5 separate regions of the Homo sapiens genome follow, and regions 2, 3, 4 and 5 are each linked to region 1. Evidence: promoter capture Hi-C in 16 types of primary human blood cells and fetal thymus (Javierre and others, 2016). All regions are on one chromosome and are shown on one strand. Each heading gives the region's core, a stretch centred on a gene start or on the middle of the fragment in contact. The rest is flanking DNA. Distances are from core to core; before and after follow the strand shown.

Evidence for each region. The method cuts DNA at HindIII sites, captures the fragments that hold promoters and counts their contacts. A CHiCAGO score of 5 or more calls a contact.
Region 2: a fragment that was not itself captured here is called in contact with the fragment with the promoter of U2AF1 in region 1 in 1 of 17 cell types (erythroblasts); the score reaches 5.2 in erythroblasts.
Region 3: a contact is called between a fragment that was not itself captured here and the fragment with the promoter of U2AF1 in region 1, in 2 of 17 cell types (endothelial precursors and erythroblasts). The highest score is 7.6, in endothelial precursors.
Region 4: a contact is called between a fragment that was not itself captured here and the fragment with the promoter of U2AF1 in region 1, in 13 of 17 cell types (megakaryocytes, endothelial precursors, erythroblasts and 10 more). The highest score is 18.7, in megakaryocytes.
Region 5: a contact is called between a fragment that was not itself captured here and the fragment with the promoter of U2AF1 in region 1, in 1 of 17 cell types (endothelial precursors). The highest score is 6.3, in endothelial precursors.

The regions. Positions count from the first base shown.
Region 1 is chr21:43,106,244-43,108,923 of GRCh38, reverse strand. It overlaps U2AF1 (U2 small nuclear RNA auxiliary factor 1), which reads left to right and starts at 1,354. Exons shown (of 8, transcript NM_006758.3): 1 at 1,354-1,473. The coding sequence starts at 1,430. LOC101928369 (a long non-coding RNA gene) reads right to left here and starts at 1,234. Exons shown (of 5, transcript XR_937770.3): 1 at 829-1,234. The HindIII fragment of the contact is 2,538 bases long and covers 817-2,680 here.
Region 2 is chr21:42,852,729-42,855,408 of GRCh38, reverse strand. It overlaps WDR4 (WDR4 tRNA N7-guanosine methyltransferase non-catalytic subunit), which reads left to right. Exons shown (of 11, transcript NM_018669.6): 8 at 783-847; 9 at 1,657-1,840. Among named protein-coding and RNA genes, the nearest start is that of WDR4, 25 kb to the left of the region's middle. The HindIII fragment of the contact is 8,131 bases long and covers 1-2,680 here.
Region 3 is chr21:42,903,975-42,906,654 of GRCh38, reverse strand. It overlaps NDUFV3 (NADH:ubiquinone oxidoreductase subunit V3), which reads right to left. Exons shown (of 4, transcript NM_021075.4): 3 at 2,379-2,680. Among named protein-coding and RNA genes, the nearest start is that of NDUFV3, 12 kb to the right of the region's middle. The HindIII fragment of the contact is 2,034 bases long and covers 414-2,447 here.
Region 4 is chr21:42,923,267-42,925,946 of GRCh38, reverse strand. ERVH48-1 (endogenous retrovirus group 48 member 1, envelope) reads left to right here and starts at 317. Exons shown (of 2, transcript NM_001308491.2): 1 at 317-601. RefSeq lists an enhancer at 1-182. The HindIII fragment of the contact is 2,430 bases long and covers 100-2,529 here.
Region 5 is chr21:42,954,561-42,957,240 of GRCh38, reverse strand. It overlaps LOC124905023 (a long non-coding RNA gene), which reads left to right and starts at 1,429. Exons shown (of 2, transcript XR_007067882.1): 1 at 1,429-1,551; 2 at 1,657-2,680. RefSeq lists enhancers at 1-229, 230-1,080. The HindIII fragment of the contact is 228 bases long and covers 1,263-1,490 here.

The DNA of each region.
Region 1 (2,680 bases), core at 105-2,604:
TACTTTTTGGTTTAAACCTCTGAGGCCCTACTGTTTCTAATACAGGTTTCCAGTTTGCTCATCTTTCCCAGGTAGGAAGATGCTCTGTTGCCAAGAGAAATGCAATTCTAACACGCAAATCCGCCCAAACACTAGAGCTCAGCATTCAGCTCTAGCCGAGCTAAGAGGATCCCATGGTCCTGCCCCACAGTCTGGGGCTCATCTTGTGGAGGAGGTAAGTAAAATAGGCCCTGTCTCTCTGACTTCTACCTAATCAGAGTTGATAGTTGCGTTGGAAATTAGGTAAATCGCAGGTGAGTTGATGAATGTGGGAAACCAGATGAAAATGGCTGCTTGATGGGGTTAAAACGCAGGAGAGGAATAGAACCCTTCCAACGGAATGGTTCCAGCCTTGTGACATGAGGAGACTGAAAGGGTATCCCAGAGGCAGGTCACTGGCCTTCCAGCTCCACCTGTGGGTGGCCTTGGCCAGGCAACTGCAAGAGTGCAGGGCCCCGGGGAGGTCGCACCTGGCAAGCGCTGAGGGAGGGTAAAGCGGAGAGGGGTGTGAGAAGAGAAAAACAACACAGAGCGTCCGAGCTATGTGAGGCGTGCGAGGTTAATCCGGCCCGGAGAGACAGGTCTATGCGGCTTCAGCGGTCCCCACCCATGCCTGGCAATTGTTTAAAGGCACTATTGCTCCGGACCCGCTGCCTTCACCCATGAACTTCCTTTCCTGGAATTATGATATAAAGAACAACGTACAGCCAATTAATAGCTTGTTATTTTCATGTAAATTCTTGGTGAGCTATTTAAGAACTGCCCCCCTCTTAAGCTTTATAAACCCACTTGTCACTGTTGCAAATCCTATGTTCAGGGCAACTTGAAGCTATGCTCCCGGGTTGCAATCTTCAAACTTGGCCCAAATAACCTCTCTACTTATATCAAGTTTGCCTCAGCTTTTTTTTTCTTCTAGGTCGACGGTTCCCGCCCCGCAAGGGTGCAGGGAAGGGGACGCCCGCACTTCCTAGTGCTCCCTTAGCTGGGGTCGAGCTGAGCGCCCCCCACCGAGCCCCAGGCGGCTCTGTGGAGAAGCCCCTCGGCCCCGGGTTCGGTCTGCACTGCCAGCCCCCAGTCCCCGGCGCGCAGGATCCAGCAGGGCCAGCGCCGGGCGGGCGAGAAGGCGAGAGAGCTAGGGCCGGGCGGGGAGGGCACCGGCAGGGGGCGCGGGTTCCCAGGACCGAAAAGGCGGAGCCTCCCACGCGCACTACGTGCTCCCTACGCGCATGCGTCCCGCCCACGCGCAGGCAGCACCTCGCCTGACTGGGTAGCGCTGCCACGTCGGGGCGGGGAAGAGCGTCGTCGCGTCCGGGTGACGTCTCCCGAGGGCGTCGGCAGGGTCGGCGGCGTCGGCAGCAGTGTCGACGGCAGCGGCGGCGGCGGGTGGGAAATGGCGGAGTATCTGGCCTCCATCTTCGGCACCGAGAAAGACAAGTGAGTGGGAGCCCCCCGCCGGGGGTTGGGCGCGATCGGGGCGCAGGGTGGTTGAGGCGGTGGGAGGGCGACCGGGGAGGCCCAGGCGGGCCGGCGCGGCGGTGGCGGGGGAGGGGCGCGCGGCGGGAAGGAGCGGTGGCCCTTCCGGCCCCTTGCGCGCCCTCCGGAGCCGCCGCCTCGTGGGCCGCGCGGCGGAAAACTGGAGCGGGCAGAATGAATGGGGTCTCTTTTCGGGGCGCCGCGGCCGAGCTTTCTCCGGCCTTGGGGTCCGGACTGGCTGATCGCCCGACGTCCGGGCCTCCGAGTCGCCGACTCCCGGAAGCCGCCTCGAGCCGCGCTGAAAGTTGCCTGGAGCATCCGGGCCTTTTGGACGTGGACACGTTTGTTCCAACTTTCGGCTGTGAATGTCCTGTCGAGCAAGCTCTGGTACCAGCCTCGCCAGTATTCAGTCGCTTATCTAACTTAGGGTCCTAAGCGTTGGTGTTTTATCCACTTAGCCAGCCTCTTGCCTGTTTAAGCGACCGCTGGGCCGGCAGTAAGGAGATATGACGAGAAAAAGTATGGTGGAGACTACTGGATTAACTATCTAACCACAAGAGACGTGATCCGCTCTTAACATACAGGTGCTCCTGGATTTACCATGGGATTGCGTTCCGATAAACCCATCATGAATCGAAAATGCCTTTAATACCCCGATAAACCCATCATCTAAGTTGAAAATTTGTAAGTCGGTGACTGTTCTTGAAGACACAATTCTGATATAAGGAAAAAGATGTTTTGATTTTTTCCTTAAGGTTGCATGCCTTCCCTAATCAATCGTTAGGTTAAAAGCAAAACATTTAATTTCAGCTTTAATTGCCACCTTGGCACGTACTAATTTCCAGTGAGTTGGCTGTAGTTTAGACTAAATGGAATGTTTTCAGACGTTTGAAGGATAATTCTTACTTTGAAAACCTAAAGACTCAGCATCTGGCTTAATCTACTCTTTAGTTATCTTGGCATTCTTCAGTGCCATACAAAGTTAACATGACTTTATGTTTTCAATGATAAACCCCTAAGTTTGTCATAGATGTTTTTAATGCCACTTTTTTCAAACGCTATTTAAAATGTTTCTCTTTTCCAGGATGGAGTCTATCTTGTAAAATGTCCTCTTCACACATGGTAGAATCTCCTGTGTTGTTTGGATGAGGAGGCTATATTTCTAGCA
Region 2 (2,680 bases), core at 90-2,589, 250 kb after region 1:
CCTTTGTGGGTCTGCCAGCCAGGTGGGGCAGGGGTGGGGCCAGGCCCACTCCAGCATTCTCCGGCCAGCTTGGAGCAATCTCATGACACCCTGAAAGCCCAGGCCTTGGCAAAGTTTCCCGCCAAACGGTCTGTTCCATTTCCTAGAGAACTGTGTGGTGTGGCCTCTGCCCCCTGCCAGGCAGCTGTGTAAGAGAGGACCAGGCCTTTTCCTTCATGCTTCACGTGGACTCAGGTTCCTGGAAGTTTCCTTCATTTAAAAAAAATTTTTTTTTTTTTTTTGAGATGGAGTCCCACTCTTGCCCAGGCTGGAGTGCAGTGGTGCTATCTCGACTCACAGCAACCTCCGCCTCAGGCTCCTGAGTAGCTGGGATTAAAGGCGTGAGCCACTGTGCACGGCCTCTTCTTCATTTTTAATATTTCCTCTGCCAGGAACTGTGGGAGCTCACAGGGCAGTTGTATGTGTAGCTCTCATCTCTTCCTTTCCCCTGTGTCCTCCGCTCCCTCTTCTCCTCACTGTCTGACCTATCTTGTTGGCTTTGGAGGCTGTCGCAGGCCCTGCAGGGAGTGCCAGAACCACTGGGGGGCTTTTGTCATCTGCTTGGGAAACAGGGAATCAGCTACCCTCCTTTCCCCACTGATTCCAGAATGTTCCAGTGCTGTTTCCTCTTCCTTGATATGTGGGGGCGTGAGCGTCCTTCGGTCTTGCTCTTGTTGGATCAGAGCGCCCGGCGTCGGGCCCCTGCAGGTGGCGTGAAGTTAATGGGCTTCTTCTCCTTTTAGAAGTTTGCCGCGTCCAGGATTGCATTCTGGTGCCAGGAGAACTGCGTGGCGCTCCTGTGCGACGGGTAAGCTGCGGCGGCACCTCTATGGCCTCCGGTTCTGCAGACCTGCAGGGGGAAGAGTTAGCGGGTTGGCCACTGGCCCACGTCCTCAATGAAGAGGTCCTGAACGGTGGTGGTATTGGTCTAGCACCTCCCTCTGAGAATGTCACTTTTGATGACTGCTGCTGCATGAGGGTGAGGGCTCCTCTCAGCCAGCGCTCTTCAACCTGACGTTGAACTCCCCTGGCGTAAAGAGCACCAGCAGCCTCTGCCTGGCCTTCTGAGATGACAGACTTTCCCCTGGGCCAGTCGTGGTGGCATCACCTCACTCCCGGCTCGGGGCTGGTCGGATGGGAACCCCCTGGGGTTGGCGGTGCTGACAAGGTGGGTTTAGGGGTGGAGTGCAGTTCTGCTGCTTCTTCCCGAGTGACTTGTGTGTGTCAGGAAAGGTATTCTATTTGGTGCTTTCGGCACTTTTCATCTTGTCCTTATGACAGCCTGGGGAGGTCTCTTAGCTCGTTCTGGAAGTACGCAGGTGTGAGAGGAGAGCTGCGCCTGAGCCCAGGGCCTGCGTCCTCCTGCCCTGCCTGCCTGTACCGTGCTGGTTAGCTATTGCTGCACCACGAGCCACTCCAGAGCTTAGGACTTAAAAAAGTGTACGTCACCCCATGGTTTCCCCGGCGCCGGCATTTGGGAGTGGCGCAGCTGGGGCTTTCAGCGTAGGCTCTCCTGAGGTGGCACCGGCGAGGGCTGCACCGTCTGGGGTGCTGGCTGCAGAGCGGAGCCCGTGGGCCTGCAGTCCTAGTAATCATGCTCTCTTTCTTCGTGGCAAGCACTCCTGTGGTCTACATCTTCCAGCTGGACGCCCGCAGACAGCAGTTGGTGTACAGGCAGCAGCTGGCGTTCCAGCACCAAGTGTGGGACGTGGCTTTCGAGGAGACCCAGGGGCTGTGGGTGCTCCAGGACTGCCAGGAAGCCCCCCTGGTGCTCTACAGGCCTGTGGGCGACCAGTGGCAGGTGAGACTCGGCACCTTCCAGATGTCCTATGCCCTGCCTTTCCATAAGCCTGGGGGTGTGGGGCGGCAGCTATGTTTTTTGGGTCCATGGGTAAGCCTCTTTCAACTCAGCCACTTCTGGGGCCCAGGGTCTGTGTCCTGAATGGCAGTGGCTGGGGCTTCCACCGTGGGTGAAGGGAGCCGGGTGCCAGGCCGGCGTGGCTGGCTTGTCCCATGTGGTGATGTCTGCAACAGTTCTTTTTTTGGGTGAGTGTGTGGCCCCCCACACCACACTTAGCGATGAAGTTGGCACTCAGTGTGGCAAGGGTGTGTGGGACTAACACTTGGAGGCTGGATTAGCACAGCCTCGGGCCTGGGGCACTGGCTGAGTCCTCAGGAGCATGTGGAGCCCCGGGTAGAGGAGGGGGCAAGGGCGGCAGGCTGAGCTGCTTTCCTCTGGGGAGACAGTGGGGTCTCTGGGCGAGGGCGGCGGGCCGAGCTGCTTCCTTGCTGGGGGACGGGGCGAACCCTGTACCTTGTCTGCATCGCTCCTGGTAACGGAGCAATGCCCCTGCCCGCCCTGCGTCTCACAGGGTTGCTGTGGAGTTGAGTGGAGTAGGTACCCATTTGCCAAAGCTCAGTTGAGCACTTTGGAAGCACTTTTTTTTTTTTTTTGAGACGGAGTTTTGCTCGTGTTGCCCAGGCTGGAGTACAATGGCGCTATCTCGGCTCACCGCGACCTCCGCCTCCCGGGTTCAAGTGATTCTCCTGCCTCAGCCTCCCGAGTAGCTGGGATTACAGGCATGCGCCACCACACCCGGCTAATTTTGTATTTTTAGTAGAGACGGGGTTTCTCCATGTT
Region 3 (2,680 bases), core at 181-2,680, 200 kb after region 1:
GAAGATAGTTAAGAAACAACACACCCGTGAAATATTAGAACTTTCTCTTCAGAAAGGTTTGCAGTCTGAAAACTCCCAATTCTGTTTTTATCCTGCGAGTTGTGTTATTCGTCTCCATTTTCGAGCAGGAGGAGTGAAAGCAGCAGCATCAGGAAATGCAGTTCCTAAGGGCTGGGAAGTCTGGCAAGCACCGGCACTTGGCGTACTGATCAAAGAGCAGACGGAGAGGGGGGAAAACACATAGATCCTGTCGCACAACGAACCAAGAACAAGAAGGCGTCATGTAAGGCACATAAGGCAAGGGGCGGCGGTACAGAGGATGGAGAGCAGACACAGGACGGAGCCGCGCTTGTTAGGGATCATGCACTTTAGAGAAGTCTTCAAGAAGAGCCATGGATTCTAAAACGGAAGCTTGCCTTTTCATGTTTGCCACGACCCACCTAAAGCGCATTGCATCTTATCAAGTTTCGTGCTCAAGAAAATGGTAACATAGCTGGGCGCAGTGGCTCACGCCTGAAATCCCAGCACTTTGGGAGGCAGAGGCAGGTGGATCACCCGCGGTCAGGAGTTCGAGACCAACCTGACCAACATGGCAAAACGCTGTCTCTACTAAAAATACAATAATTAGCCAGGCGTGGTGGCAGGCACCTGTAGTGGCACCTACTCAGGAGGCTGAGGCAGGAGAATCGTTTGTACGTGGGAGGTGGAGCCGGCAGTGAGCCAAGATTGCGCCACTGTACTGCAGCCTGGGTGACAGAGTGAGATTCCATCTCCAAAAAAAAAAAAAAAAATGGTAACATCATAGGAATAAATACTGTTGCCCTTTAAAAGCCTCCACACGCTAGGCACGGTGGCTCATGCCTGTAATCCCAGCACTTTGGGAGGCCGAGGCAGGTGGATCACCTAAGGTCAGGAGTTCGAGACCAGCCTGGCCTACATGGTAAAACCCTGTCTCTACTAAAAATACAAAAATTAGCCGGGGGTGGTGCCACACGCCTGTAATCCCAGCTACTTTGGAGGCTGAGGCTGGAGAATCACTTGAACCCAGGAGGCGGAGGTTACAGTGAGCCAAGATTGCGCCATTGTACTCCAGCCTGGGCAACAAGAGCAAAACCCATGTCAAAAACAAACAAACAAACAAACAAACAAAAAACCCTTCATAAAATGTCTTCTAGAAGAGTAAAGCAGCCCACATGTGTTTTCAGTTAACCAGAGAAGGAAACGCTGTCCAGGGGAAAGGATGCGTATGCAGCGGCTGACCTGTACAACACTTACTGCTTTAATTCCTGAACTATGAATCTGCCCTGTGCACAGGATGCTGAAAGCAATCATCTAGTTTACCCAAAGACTCTCACGCCAAGCGACTAGCTACTGCTCTTCACCTATGCAAGTTAAACCGGAGGCTCCCCTTTTCACTTAGCGAGATGCCCCACAAGGTCATCAATGAACACTTGGACACCTTCAAAAGTCAGTGGTGACAATGTTAAGCTGCCAGTTTTCAAAAATTATACCGGTTAAGAAATAGTGAAGAGTGCCAAGGACATACTCTTTAAGATGAAGGTTGGGGGCCGGGCACGGTGGCTCAGGCCTGTAATCCCAGCACTTTGGGAGGCCGAGGCAGGCTGATCATGAGGTCAGGAGATTGAGACCATCCTGGCCAACATGGTGAAACCCCGTCTCTACTAAAAATACAAAAATTAGCTGGACATGGTGGTGGGGGACTGTAATCCCAGCTACTCAGGAGGCTGAGGCAGGAGAATGGCTTGAACCTGGGAGGCAGAGGTTGCAGTGAGCCAAGATTGCACCATTACACTCCAGCCTGGAGATGGAGCAAGACTCTGTCTCAAAAAAAAAAAAAGATGAAGGTTAAGCAGGGTGGGGTTGCTCATGCCTGTAATCCCAGCACTTTGGGAGGCCGAGGCGGGTGAATTGCCTGAGGTCAGGAGTTCGAGGCCAGCCTGGCCAACACGGTGAAACCCCATCTCTACTAAAAATACAAAAAAAATTAGCCAGGTGTGGTGGCCTGCGCCTGTAATCTCAGCTACTTGGGAGGCTGAGGCAGGGGAAGTGCTTGAGATGGAAGTTGTAGTGAGCAGAGATCGCGCCACTGCACTCTACCTGGGCAACAGAGCAAGACACCATCTCAAAAAAAAAAAAAAAAAAGAACGTTAAATATTTTAGGGATTCTAAATATAAAGATGTGGATTGTCCATAATTAAGACATACTTTTCTGCCTGGCTGAGACAGCGTTACAGGCCATATTTCTAGTACAGAATTTGACTAATTGTAACACTGCTCTACAAGCATATGTAAATTAGTTCTTTTGCCTCACTACCCTAAGGGACAGGGTGCACTTGGGAGCGCGAGTCAAGGTATACCCTGTGTGCCGCCTCGGTCGTCCCCTGGCGCGGCTGCATCTTCCATGGCCTCGCCCTCGGCCTCAAGCTTCAGCGCTGCTGTCTTTTCATGGAAACCGTGGTTATTCTCAACAGGAACTGTCTCCAAATTGCTTGGTGGTATCTGATCTTCCACGATTGCCTGTCCACCCTTCAGGTGGCCTTCTATTCCCTGCGTCCCTGAGGTTTCCTTTCTGGGCAGGGGAGGGGCCGCCTTGCGCTGGGGCTCTGGCACGGGTTTTTCCAGATGCCCCTCTGCCGCCCCAGGAGGACTGGCTTGCAGC
Region 4 (2,680 bases), core at 65-2,564, 180 kb after region 1:
TGTTAATTTAGAAAGTTTATTTTGCCAAGGTTGGGCAGGGACCTGTGACACCGCCTCAGGAAGTCCTGATTGAAAGATTCTCCCAGGGGCCTGAAAGCTTGAGGGAATGAGTAACTCCTCCTCCTCAGGCCCAGTCCCAACGCTCAAACTTGCACCAGCAGCAAGATAGCAGAGGCAGGAAAAGAGCTGGCTGGAAGACACATACTCTCTGAAGATCAAGGGGGAGGCCGTCCGCGTACTACATAGCAGTCACGTCAGGCTGGGACAATTCCTGTTTACAGAGAACTATAAAAGCCCTGCCCCCTCCTCACTTGGGGCTGATGCCATTCTAGGCCTCAGTCTGTCTGCATCCAGGTGCTTATTAAAACAGTGTGTTGCTCCACACCGCCTCGTGTTGTCTGTTGGCGCGCTCTCCGGGTTCCAACCAATGCAAGAGCCTTGGGGCTGGCCCTGAAACCTGCGAGGGGCTTCCGTCCACGTCCCCAGTGGACCTACCACCCCTCCATCTGGGAAAGCAGGCCACAGCAGCCGGACAAAGGAAGCTCCTCAGCCTCTAGTCGCCTCTCTGTGCATGCACATCGGTCACTGATCTCGCCTACTGGTAAGTTTCCTGGGAGCCCGGTTAACAGGGAAAAATCCGCACGGCCTCTCTTGGTTTCTCCAGCCCCAAAATCCAACATGGGTCCAAGAAGGCTATGGCATGGCCGGGCGTGGTGGTTCACGCCCGTAATCCCAGCACTTTGGGAGGCCAAGGCCGTTGGATTCACGAGATCAGGAGTTCGAGACCAGCCTGGTCAACATGGTGAAACTCCGTCTCTACTAAAAATACAAAAATTAGCTGGGCACAGTGGCAGGCCCCTGTAATCCCAGCTACTCGGGAGGCTGAGGCAGGAGGATCGCTTGAACCCGGGAGGTGGAGGTTGCAGTGAGCAGAGATCGCGCCACTGCACTCTAGCCTGGGTAACAGAGCAAGACTCTGTCTCAAAAAAAAAAAAAAATGCTAAGGTGTGTGCCAGGCACTCGCTGATCATCTGGTCTTAGGGGGACTCTAAGCCAGTTGATCCCATTCTGGGAATGAAAAAGGCAGCGGTGACAAACGCTCCTTTTATCGTCTCCCTCCGGCTGTCCAGGACGGTCTGCTTTTCCCGTTCTCCTGAGCCTACCCTCCATTATGGAAAATTCCCAGTCTTCCATTCCAAAGGACAGCCCTCTAGGCTGCCTCATGAAAAACCTGCAAACCTTAGACCTCAGGCGAGATATCCCTCTAAGCACCTTGTTCTTTTTTTGCAATTCAGTCTGGCCACAGTACAAATTGGACAGTGGGTCCAAATGGGCCACAAATGGAACATACGACTTTACAATTTTAACTGACTTAAGCAATTATTGCTGACGGCTGGAAAAATGGGGAGAAATTCCTTATATCCAGGCCTTGTTCACACTCAGATTACAACCTGGCCTCTGCTCTTGCTCACCTGTTCAAATCCTCCCCCTCCATTCTCGCCGCCCTGATCGCCGTTCTCCTCCCGACCCTAACTCTTTTTCCTTGTTGGATCCAGCCAACTGCTGTCCACCCCTTCCAGCCCCTGCCTCTTCCTCTCAACCGTCTTCTTTAACCCCCTAAGCCTCCTCTTTGTCTTCCCAGCCAGCACTGCCTCCAAGAGTATCCACTTCTTTTCCTACACCATCCTCTCCTCAGGACAATTCTTGCACTGCCTGTACCCATTCTCCTCCCCCACCGCTCTCTCCTGAGGCCTGTAAACCCACCCCGCCACCTTCCGCTCCTATCTATCCTCTGCTGCCTATTAACTCAACCCTCCTTCCCCCTTCAAACCCTCAGCAGGAACCACTTCCGGCTTTTCTTTCTTTCCCGCCTATACTCATTCAGGCATTGCTTTTGGCCCATGCCCCACCCTTACTTCAGCGTCTGTGCTAGAATGCCCCCTTCGGGAAGTAGCAGGAACTGAAGATCTTATTAGAGTTCATGTTCCCTTCTCCCTCACTGATCGCTCTTGAATTCACAAAAGACTCGGTTTATTTCCAGAATACCCTGCCTCTTATATTAGAGAGTTTCAGTACCTCACCCAGTCTTATGAACTAACTTGGCATGACCTCTACGTTATCCTCTCTTCCACGCTCACCCCAGAAGACTGGGACCGTATCTGGACCCTAGCTCAGGCACATGCTGATACAATTCATCACCAAGCTGCCGCCCAGCCTGCTGGCACAGAGGCAGTCCCCAGCCAGGACCCCCACTGGGATTATCAAGATGGGGCCTTTGGATGCTGCCATCGAGACCACATGATTGTGTGTCTCCTTGCAGGACTCAAAAAGTGTGCCCATAAAGCGGTAAACTATGAAAAACTTTTAGAAATCACCCAAGGTCCTGACGAAAACCCAGCCCTTTTTCCTCTCTTGTTTAATGGAAGCCATGAGAAAATATACCAACCTAGACCCAGCCAGCCCAGAAGGAACCACTATCTTAAGCCTTCGGTTCATCTCCCAACCCATCCCTGATATCCAGCTCAAGCTTCAGAAGCTTGACGATGGCCCTCAAACCCCACAACGAGACCTTCTCAATTTAGCCCTCAAAGCCTTTAATAATTGTGATGAAGAAAGTGAAAGGCAAAAACAGGCAGAGTTTCGAATGCTTGCCTCCGCCATCGGGAGGCCCTGCAGGCCC
Region 5 (2,680 bases), core at 127-2,626, 150 kb after region 1:
TCACTTACGCCTTAGTCTGGCTCAGTGAATCTACATTTTTGCATAAACAATAGGGCATTTGTCTTGGAGAAATAAGCCAAAAGTAATAAATAAATAAATAAACAATAGGGCAGAGGAAGCAATCAGATATACGTTTGTCGCAGCTCAGCAGAGGGCTGACTGAATTCTGTCCTTTGTCCCACACCTGTGAAGATGAGCTACCAATTTACCTTGCCAGGTGAAATTCAAAAGAACTGTTTTAAGGTAAAGATCTTGAGGCCCTCAAGGAATTTCCTTGTGGGGGAAATGGTGAGGAAGGTAGGTAGCTTCCTGTTATCTTCGTAGCAATCTTGCTTAGGAATAAAGTTTGAGGCAGGTTTGCCTGAGGCAGCGTGGGGTCCTGCGACTGACTTTCCTTTCACAGTTAGAACTGTATTTCTGTCCAGAACCAGGTATGAATTCTTGTTAACCCTGGGGGACAGTTTCACTAGTTACATATTAAAAAAAAAAAAAAAAAAAAAGTTTTTCAATGAGGAAAGATAATTCTAAAAGCAATATAAGATTTAGAAAAAAAGTTTTTGAAGTCCTCCGAAAATCATTTTTTCTATTTATACAAAGATTCCTTTTTTAAATTTTCGACTCTTTTTTTGTTTTTGAAGCTTGTCACGCTTAAGGATTTTTAAAATTTTCTTTTTCTTTTTCTTTTCTGAGACGGAGTCTGGCTCTGTCACCCAGGCTGCAGTGCAGTGGCACAATCTCATCTCACTGCAACCTCTGCCTCCCAGGTTCAAGCCATTCTCCTGGCTCAGCCTCCCGAGTAGATGGGGTTACAGGCACCCGCCACCAGGCCCGGATAATTACTTGTTTTTTTTTTTTTTTTTTTCAGGCGGAGTCTCACTCCGCTGCCCAGGCTGGAGTGTGCAGTGGGGCGATCCCAGCTCACTGCAACCTCTGCCTCCCGGGTTCAAGCAATTCTCCTGCCTCAGGCTCCCAAGTAGCTGGGATTATAGGCCCTTGCCACCACACCTGGCTAATTTTTGTATTTTTAGTAGAGACGGGGTTTCACCATGTTGGTCAGGCTGGTCTCGATCTCCTAACCTCGTGATCTGCCCGCCTTGGCCTCCCAAAGTGCTGGGACTACAGGCGTGAGCCGCTGTGCCAGGCCATAAATTTTATTTTTCATTTCCTTGTTTTGCTTTGTTTTTGAAATGATTCTCCTTTAAGCCATATTTACATTATCTTGTTATCCCAAGACCAAAGGATTTTTTAAACAAAGATAAGCTTCAACTCCTATCTTGTTTTACTCATCAGTGATCCTGAATTACCAAAGACTTCTGTATACTCATGTTTCGAATGCCATGTAGGTCAGGAGTCAACTGGAAAAGTTGTTAGGCCGGTATTTCTACGTCTCGCATTTGTCAGCACTTGCCAAAACGGTGACGCAGCGGTGTGTTATCTGCCGACAGCGTAATGCGAGGCAAGTGCCAGCCGTTCCGCCCGGCATACAAGCTTATGGAGCAGCCCCCTTTGAAGATCTCCAGGTAGACTTCACAGAGATGCCAAAGTGTGGAGGTAACAAGTATTTACTAGTTCTTGGGCGTACCTACTCTGGGTGGGTGGAGGCTTATCCAACACGAACTGAGAAAGCTCCTGAAGTAACCCGTCTGCTTCTTCGAGATCTGATTCCTAGATTGGGACTGCCCTTACGGATCAGCTCAGATAACGGGCCTGCGTTTGTGGCTGACAGTACAGAAGATGGCAAAGGTATCGGGGATCACATGGAAACCGCATGCCGCCTCCTGGTCTCAGAGTTCCGGAAAGGTGGGGCGGATAAATCGGACTATCCAAAATGGTATTACTGTCTTCCCCGCTGGATATTAAAAACAATTCCACAAGGGGCGTCAAACCACCTGCCAAATTTGAGGGAATGTTATCCTCTCCCCCGCCCCCCGTCCCCAGATATTAGAGACAATAACACAGGGGTAATGTATACCCACTGCTTTATTGGGAGTAATATCATCCTCTCCCTTCTTGGATATTAGGAACAATATCACAGTGTGCGTGTACGCCTGTCGCGAAATTCAATGTAATGTCATCCTGTGCCTCTGTGGATATGACGAACAATATCACGGGGGATGTACCACTTCTGAGATATTGGGAGTGATATCATCCTCTCCCCTCTGGAAGTTAGGGACAATATCACAGGGGTAGTGTACACTCTCTGTGATGTTGGGACTAATATCATCCTCCCGCCCCCTGGATATTGAAAACCATATCACAAGGGGCGTGTACACACACTTCGATATTGGTATTAATACCATCCTCTCCCTCTTTGGATTTTCAGTGCAATATTTCAGGTGGGGTATACACCACCTGCAATATTGGAAGTAATATTATTTTCTCCCACTGTGGATATCAGCAACAATATCACAGGGGGTGTGAAAAACCCCTGCGACATTCAGAGTAACATCATCGTTCCCCTCATGAATATTAAGAACAATATCGTGGTGGGGGGTGTACACCCCCTTTGATATTTGACATCATCCTCTTCCCCCCTGGATATGAGGAACAATATCAGGAAGGGATGTACAGACCCTGAGACATTTGCTGTCATATAATTGTCTCTCCCCTAGATATTAGGAAAAATGTAACTGGGGATGTGAACACCCCTGCGATATTGGGAGAAGTATCATCCTCTCCC